3 separate regions of the Homo sapiens genome follow, and all the other regions are linked to region 2. The links are contacts of gene promoters, found by promoter capture Hi-C in human tissues and cell types (Jung and others, 2019). All regions are on one chromosome and are shown on one strand. The core of a region is centred on a gene start or on the middle of the fragment in contact, and the rest is flanking DNA. Distances in the headings are between cores, read along the strand shown. Region 1 holds the start of PRSS33 (serine protease 33). Region 2 holds the start of CASKIN1 (CASK interacting protein 1). Region 3 holds the start of PRSS27 (serine protease 27).

Evidence for each region. Contacts are between HindIII fragments. The study calls those that stand out against the background at their distance.
Region 1: a contact is called between the fragment with the promoter of PRSS33 here and the fragment with the promoter of CASKIN1 in region 2, in 1 of the 25 tissues and cell types used here (thymus).
Region 3: the fragment with the promoter of PRSS27 here is called in contact with the fragment with the promoter of CASKIN1 in region 2 in 1 of the 25 tissues and cell types used here (lymphoblastoid cells).

The regions. Positions count from the first base shown.
Region 1 is chr16:2,786,160-2,789,000 of GRCh38, forward strand. PRSS33 (serine protease 33) reads right to left here and starts at 1,401. Exons shown (of 7, transcript NM_152891.3): 1 at 1,374-1,401; 2 at 343-445. The coding sequence starts at 388. The HindIII fragment of the contact is 27,852 bases long and covers 1-2,841 here.
Region 2 is chr16:2,195,183-2,197,882 of GRCh38, forward strand. CASKIN1 (CASK interacting protein 1) reads right to left here and starts at 1,423. Exons shown (of 20, transcript NM_020764.4): 1 at 1,157-1,423. The coding sequence starts at 1,250. The HindIII fragment of the contact is 36,898 bases long and covers 1-2,700 here.
Region 3 is chr16:2,718,841-2,721,540 of GRCh38, forward strand. PRSS27 (serine protease 27) reads right to left here and starts at 1,384. Exons shown (of 6, transcript NM_031948.5): 1 at 1,275-1,384. The coding sequence starts at 1,320. RefSeq lists an enhancer at 1,654-2,221 and a silencer at 1,955-2,700. The HindIII fragment of the contact is 19,281 bases long and covers 1-2,700 here.

The DNA.
Region 1 (2,841 bases), core at 151-2,650, 590 kb after region 2:
TGGTGTCAAATAACGGAGTTGGAGGGGAGGCCAGAGATGAGGAAGGAGGGTGAAACAATGTTGCCCTGACATTGCGCCAGGCTTTCGTGCCGTCTGTTATCTTATTTAACCCTCCCCAGAGCACTGTGAAGGTGCAGGGGGCAAGGGCGTATGAGCATGACACCGACAAGCACATCGAGGTGTGGTGAGGTCAAGGTCAGTGGCAGAGAGGATTGAGCCCTTGGAATCAAGATTAGAAAGCCCAAGAGTGCTCCAGGGAGCCCGGCCCAGGGAGCAGTGAGATGGGAGAACTGGGAGCCAAGGTGTCTGCGGCCCTCACCCCCAGTCCCTGTCCCCACTCACCCAGCACCAGAAGGAGCAGGACCTGGAGACAGGAAACCCCTCTCATTCTGTCTTCAAGGCTGGGCTGGGTAAGGGTGGCACTGCCTAGGGCTTGGACTCTGGTCTGGAGCCAGCAGGGAGAAGAGAGGAGAGTCCTGGCCCAGGGGCACCAATCCTCACACCAGCCCGTCACCCCCTCCGTGGTCCTTCTGTCTGTCCTCAGCTCCTGGTGGGTTCTGGACTTATCCTGGTGGCCCAGGCTGTATACCCTTCGTTCTGCCCAGGGCCCAGGTATGCAGCACCCACCACCCAGATATTTGGGCATCCTTGGTCTCGACAGAAGCCCTGGAGCCTAACCCCCCTCGGTCATCCTCACTCCCTCCCTCATCCCCCTCCCCCATCCTCACCCCCTCCCTCATCCTCACCCCCTCCCTCATCCTCACTCCCTCCTCCATCCTCACCCCCCTCCTCCTCACTCCCCTCCCTTATCCTCACCCCTTCCCTCATCCTCATCCCTCTCTCATCCTCACCCCCTCCCTCATCCTCACCTCCTCCTCTATCCTCACCCCGTCCTCCATCGTCACCCCTGCTCCTCCTCACTCCCCTCCCTCATCCTCACCCCCTCCCTCATCCTCACCTCTCATCCTCACCCCTCTCTCATCCTCACCCCTCCCTCATCCTCACCCCTCCTCTATCCTCACCCCCTCCTCCATCCTCAGCCCCCTCCTCCTCACTCCCCTCCCTCATCCTCACCCCCTCCCTCATCCTCACCCCTGTCTCATCCTCACCCCCTCCCTCATCCTTCACCCCCTCCCTCATCCTCACTCCTCTCTCATCACCCCTCCTCCATCCTTCACCCCCCCATCGTCACCCCCTCCCTCATCCTCACCCCCTCCTCTATCCTCACCCCCTTCCTCCTCACTCCCCTCCCTCATCTTCACCACTTCCCTCATCCTCACCCCCTCCCCCATCCTTCACCCCTCCTCGTCCTCACCCTCATCCTCACCCACTGGCTGCCCCTGCAGCCCCCACAGCCCCTGGCTTGCTCTCACCCTCACAGCCTGGCGCCTTCTGCTGACTGGGGTTGAGGGAGGGCCTGGGGGCTTAAAGTGCCAGGAGAGCGCGAGGCTCAGCCAAGGAGTAATGAACAGGGCCGGGGCGGGGCTGTGGCTTTACCGGACCAGCCTCAAACAAAGATGCTTTGAGCAGAGCTTCAGAGGTGGCAGGAAAGGGTCAATGGGTTTCTCAAAGGAAGCCTGCCTTGCGCCAAGGTACTAGAAGTGGGGGCTGGCGGAGAGCAGTGGTGCGGGTAGGTGCTGGGAGGGGTGGCAGTCAGGTGGGGAAGCTCTGCAGGATCCGGGGCAACTCCTCTCCAAACCTGACCTGGGCTCCCTGCAGAGCACACGTTGCTGGAGCTTCTGCGCTCCATTGTTCTGTCCAGAAATCCCATCTCAGACGGAAGTCCTGGCCAGACAGCTCCACCCAGAGACCCCAGCATGGCCAGCCCCCTTCCAGATCCGGGGTCTGGAGCAGCTGGAGGTGGAAAGGGACTGGTTCAAAGTTGGTGGCACTCCTTACTTGACCAGAGGCAGGGGGAGACTTGACCTTGGGGACCAGTGCAGTCTTTGGTTTGGGGTGGCCGAGACAGAGCAAGATGCTGGGGTCAGGGGACAGGAACTCCCCTTCTCTCGAGGCCCGTGGAGGACCGGGGCCCGGATGGTCCAGGGCCCTGTAGTTCCCTCTTGGGCTCATACACAGTGTTCGCTGCCTAGAAGTCTCTCAAGTCCCTCTCTGCATAGTGAACTCCTCTTATCCCTCAGCCTTCTGCTCTGCCACCTCCTCCTGCCTCCTTTGCAGCCCTGCCATAGTTGTACTTTTTTCCTTTTTTTTTTTTTTGTTTTTCTTTCTTTTTTTTTTTAAAGAGACAGGGTCTTGGCCAAGCATGGTGGCTCATGCCTGTAATCCCTGCATTTTGGGAAGCCGAGATGGGTGGCTCATTTGAGGTCAGGGGTTTGAGACGAGCCTGGCCAACATGGTGAAACCTCGTCTCTACTAAAAATACAAAAATTAGCCAGGCCTGATGGTGGGCGCCTGCAATCTCAGCTACTCGGGAGGCTGAGGCACAGGAATTGCTTGAACCCGGGAGGTGGAAGTTGCAGTGAGCCGAGATTATGCCACTGCACTCCAGCCTGGGCGACGCAGTGAGATTCTGTCTCAAAAAAAAATAAAAAGGGAGAGAGAGACAGGGTCTTGCTCTGTCACCCAGGCTGGAGTGCAGTGGTACAATCACAACTCCCTGCGTCCTTGACCTCTGGGCTCAAGTGATCCTGCCACCTCAGCTTCCCAAGTAGTTGGGACCACAGGTGCATGCCACAGCACCTAGCAATTTTTTTTTCCAGAGATGGGGTCTTGCAATGATGCCCAACTTGTTCTCGAACTCCTGGGCTCAAGAGATCCTCTTGCTGTAGTCTCCCAAAGTGCTGGGGTTATAGGCATGTGCCACCGAGGCCAGCCCATAGT
Region 2 (2,700 bases), core at 173-2,672:
CCCCTCTCTCTTACTGCACAGAGTGGACAGGAGCTAGCCAGTCATGGGCTGCTGGTGAAGTACGGGGGAGGGGGTCCTCCTGGGACTCCTAGGTGCCCCCAACAATCTCCCAGAAGCCAGTCCCAGTTCTCGGCATCCCCCTGGAGGAAGGGGAGGGGGACTCTCTGGCTTACAGTCTGTGGGGGTGGAGGGAGGAGGGAGGACGCCCAGACCCCACGTGCCGACCTGCAGAGCCCTGTCCGTGCCCGCACAGGTGCCCTGACACACTGACACGGCTATACGTGCGCAGCCGCACACGCGGCTGGTCCACACGCCCATCCATCCATCTCCGGCGGCCCCCAGGGAGGCTACGCGCTGAGCCAGGATGAGTGCTGGGACCAGGGCTCCAAGCTCCCAGCCCTTTCCTGGGGCCGGCCATAGGGCAAGCTGGGGATGGCCAGTGGTGGTCCCCCACTCCCTCATGGCCTCCTTTCCCAGCAGGGAAGCTGGAGACCCGGCTCTGCTGGAGCCTGCCTGAGCAGGGCCCCAAGCCCTTGCGCCCAGGCCGGCCCTGCCTGGAGTCCAGCCTGCCCTGGGCTGGGCGACCTTGGGCCTCTGCTCTCCCATCAGTAAATGGCACCCCACCGGCCATGCCAGGGCAGCCACACCCCCAGCGTGGTCCTGCCCCCACCTTCCCTGCAAAGCGTGTTATTAAACGTGGGGCGGGAGGGGGTCTGCTAGGGACTGTCACCTCCCGGGTCGCCCCTCGCCGCAGGGGCCCCCTCCCTGTCTTCCCGGTGCGTGTGGTGGGTGGGGGGGGCATCCGCCTCGCCCTTTGAAGGCCCCAGCAGAGACCTCCAGCTGTCAGCCCGCAGCCTGGGAAGGGAGGGGGACAGAGGTAGAGAGAGAGGGATGCGAACGCCCGCGGCCCGGGAGGCGGGTGCCGCCAGGTGCCCGCTGCGGGGCTCACGGTGGCGGCCGGCTCTCGGGGCCGCCCCATCTCCAGTGCTGGGGGCAGCGGGTGGAGGGCACGGACCAAGGGTCTGGGCGCTGCTGGCCCCGCCCCGCCCCCGGGGACCCGACAACGTCCCCTCCCCGCCCGGCGCCGGGTGGGGGGCTCCGCGCCGGGGAGGGGCCCCCGGGGCTCCCACCCGCGCCCCGCGCCCCCGGCACTCACTGGCCTTCCCGGGCCGCGGCCTCTGCAGCAGCCTCTGCGCGGTCCCTACGTCCTCCGCCTTCACCGCCTGCACCAGCTCCTGCTCCTTCCCCATGGCGCGGCCGGGGCCGCAGCGACGCGGCTGCGCTCGTGAGCTCGGCGCGGCTCAGAGGCGGCGGCGGCCCCGCGGCACCGGCCGCCTCCCCCGCCGCCTCCCCCGCCGCCTCCTCGCCGCCCGCCGCCCCTTCGCCCTCCTCGGGCTCCGGCTTGGGCTCGGGCTCCCGGCGCGGAGGGGGCGGGGAGCGCGTCACGGGCGGGGGGCGGCCCGGGGGCGGGGGCGCGCGGCGGGCGCGGGGCGGGGGCGCGGCACCTGGCGCCGCCTCCCGGACGCCGGGGTCCGCTCCCGGGCCGCCGACCTCCGTCAGCCCGCGCCGGCCGCGCGCCCGGGCCCGTGGCTCCGCCCTCCCCGCGCCCGCCCCGGGACGCCCCCTCCCCACGTGCGCGCAGCGCGCTCAGGCCAGGCCTCTGCGGACGCGGGCGGCCTGGGGCTGCTAGCCGGGCTGGGGACGCGGCCGCCGGGGGTGCACTGGGAGCCCCGACGCGGCGGCGGCGCGGGGCTGAGCCCAGAGAGGCTTCCAGAGGCTGCGGGACCCGCGGGGGACGGTTCCGAGGCAGCGGGCGGGCGGGGACCGGGCGCCGAGAGACCCGGGCGCCAGTGCCCCTGGAGCCGGCCCGCCAGGCTGTCAGGCGTTCCTGGCCCAGGGTTCCCGTGGGAGGTGTCGAGGGATTGTGAAGAGGAATCTCCCAATAATGAATTCGGTGTCAGGGAACCCGCACCCCCAACCCCCAAGCATCCTCCTGCTCCTCTCCGCAAATAATGCGGGCGCCACAGCTTCCCCCAGCCTCAGTCCGAAGCCTGACCCCAAGGTAGCCCCCACCACCCCCACTGAGGGAGCTCAACTCCCCACTCCCCGCACCGACTGGGGGTCGCCTCCATCTCCATCCACAGGGGCTGGAACCTCCCGCCGGCACCAACCGACCCCCGGCCCACGTCTGCCCACTCTCCAGCCTGCAGCCCAGGCAGGCGAGTCCTGCTTCCTGGGTGCTGGAGGCCCCGACTTGTGACCCTCTGAGCTCCTGGCTGAAGGCTTGGGCCACCCTGCGCCTCAGGCCCTCTCCCGTCAGGCCTGCAGCATTCTAGAGGCAGATCAGTGGGGGTCTGAGTCCCGACTCAGGCTCCGTTTCCCTCATCACCCAAGCGGGCAAGGCCGTTTGGAGAATTTGGGGAGGGTCGCACCCATTCTATGAGGCATGGCCTGGCACCCCACTCTGTGTGGCCCCAGACCATTGAGCAGGTCCAGGGGGACAGAGGAGGTCAGACAGCAGGGACAGGGAAGGTGACAGGCACCGGGGTCCCGGCATCCTGTGGGCAGCTGGCCGTTCCCGTTCCCTCCGTGGGGTCTCCTGTTAGGTTCAGGTAGCAGCCCTTGGTCTTCCAGCACTCCTGGGAGGGGTCCCCAAATGCTAGGGCCTTTCCTCTTGCCCTTTCCAATGACCAGTTGAGT
Region 3 (2,700 bases), core at 134-2,633, 520 kb after region 2:
GGGAATGTGTGGATGGACACAAGTGTGGCTGTGGGGGCTGATGGGAAATGGGGGATGTGGACAGCTGAGCCCTTCAGGGTGGGCGCCCTGTGGGGGCTGGAAGCAACAGCCAGGGGTGCCGGGGGTGTCAGGAGCATTGTTTGGGGCCTGGGCCTGTGATTCGCTGGTAGCTGGTGGGGATGGTGAAGCTTAGTGGGTACCACCAGCCAGAGACCTGGTGGGAGTGCCACCCTCGGGCTGGGAGTGAGGACGTGTCCAGGAGTCCAGCCTCTGGTCACAGCTGTTAGTGAACCGACTGCAAAACTCATTGCCAAAGAGTTTTGGCAATGACCTTGGTTCCTCACCCCGCTCAGGGGCAGTCACAGCCTTCCACCTCCTGTGCACATGGCTTGCTCAGAGGGCACCATCCTTGTGCTGGGAGACTGGGGGCATGGGGTGGGGGAGGCCGGGCCACTGAGGGGCCACTGGTGCCCTCCCACCCAGGAGAACAAGGAAGCCTGGAGTACTGGCTAAGCTGCAGCCTGGGATGACCTGACCCAGCCCTGGGAGGTGACTTGAGGACAGGGAAGTGTGGTGGCTGCCAGACTGGCTAGGCTAGCCCAGGAATGTGAGAGGTTTTCCCTGACAGAGAGTGTCCCGGCCCGCAGGGAGGGGCCTGGCAGGTGGGGCCCCCTGGCTGGCACCTGCTGTCCCTGACCCAGGACTGGGAGAGGGCACGGTGGCGCATCACCGGTTCCTCTGTCAGCAGGAGACAGGGCCCTCTGCCACCTACACCCCCTGCCCCCAGCTCTCTACTGAGCCTGCAGCCAGCCTGCTGGGGCTTCCGGGCACAGGCAGCAGCCCTCGGCTCGGCCACCCTCCCACCCCGAGTATGATGGTCCAGGCACTTGGAGCCTGAGTTCACATCCTGCACGTAGGAGGCCCCTGTCCTCACCTAGAGAATGGGGGGAGAGGCCGAGGTGGCAGGAAGCAGGGAGCCTGGCCAGAGCTGGCACACCAGTGCCCGCGGAGAGGCATGGGAGGAGGTGCTGCCCAGTTATGCCGGTGGGGTCCTCTGGGGCCTGTGCGCACACCTCCCACCCTGCCTCCCCACTTTGGACTCCCCACTTGGCACATCTGGAGCCTTCCCACCTGCTCAGGGGCAGGAGGGATGATGGCCTGTCCCACAGCCCCAGCCTGTCCCAGGGAGTAGGGGGCTGAGCCGGAGCCCCAGGCAGTGCAGCGGAGCCTGGTGGGGGACTGCACCACCAGGACCCTGCACCTTCACGACTCACCAAAACACAGCAGCAGCAGGAGCGGCACCGCCGCCGGCCGCCTCATGTCCTCAGGCCTGGCTGGGGCGCAGGGCCGTGGTCGGCGGTGGCAGAAGCGTTGGAGCACGAGCGAGGTGCAGGCTCCATGAAGTGGAGTTTTATGCTGGAGATGAGCACAGGCCCGGCTATGCGGCCCAACCCGTCGGCCCGGCCTGCCCAGCTCCTCTCCTCAGGAAGGAAGCGCCCAGAGCCGACTCCTCCGTGACCTAGCCCTGAACCCCGAGACCCCAGGGCAGACCCCTCACCCCAGCGCAGCACGGGGTGCCGTTGGCCTCGGTTCCTGGACCCTGAGCTGACCCAGACCCCCCAGCAGACCCCGAGCTGACCGCGGTGCACGCGAAGTCCGTCCAGCTTCATTCATTATTATTATTATTATTTTTTTTAATTTTTTGAGACAGAGTCTCGCTCTGTCGCCCAGGCTGGAGCGCAATCTCGGCTCACTGCAAGCTCCGTCTCCCAGGTTCAAGCCATTCTCCTGCCTCAGCCTCCTGAGTAGCTGGGATTACAGGCAGGTGCCACCACGCCCGGCTAATTTTTTGTATTTTTAGTAGAGACGGGGTTTAACCGTGTTGGCCAGGCTAGTCTCGATCTCCTGACCTCGTGATCCGCCCTCCTCGGCCTCCCAAAGCGCTGGGATTACAGGGGTGAGCCACCGCGCCCGGCCTCATTCAGTATTTTATTGAGCGCCGATGGAACACAGTGGGGCTGGGCCGCGCTGGTGGGAAAGTCAAGGCCAGGGGTGTTTGCGGGGCCGAGGGCAGGGGAGGCGATGGGACATGGGGCGGGGTCCGGAGTTGGCCGCAGCGACCCTCCTCCCGGGACAGCAGGCCCCAGAAGTTCCTCAGGCGCGCGCCAGCGCGGCCCAGGCGGCCGACCCGGGCCCCGGCTGCCATCCCTTGGAAGGGGCGGGGGCTTCCTGGCACCAGGCGGGGCGGAAGCGGCTCCGGGAAGGCCGGGCCGGGGTTACCGTTTCGGTGTCCCCGCCTGGCTCTGGGCGCGGCGCCGCGGCGGAAGAGGCTCGGGGAGGAAGTTATTTGGGGCACGGCGCTGACGTCAGAGACAGAGTGGGGCCGGGCCGTGGGGTCGGGGGCGCCGGACCTGTTTCCCCGCCGGCGCCGGGGGTCGGTACTCGCGGGCGGGGCGGGGCCGGGCGGCTCCGGGCGGGGCTGGGGGTGCGGCCGTTCCCGCCTCAGCCTTGTCCGCGCGCGTCGTGGTGCTGCCCTCTGGTGGGCGCGGGGCGCGGCGCGGGCGGCCAGGGGTGCAGAAGGGGCGCTCCCAGCCTCATGGTCCGGGCTCCGGCTCCCCGCATCGCCCTCCCTAGCCCCGCCCTCCCGCGTCTCCGCCTCCGCCTCCACCGCCTCCTCCCACCCTTCCCTCCCCGTCCAGT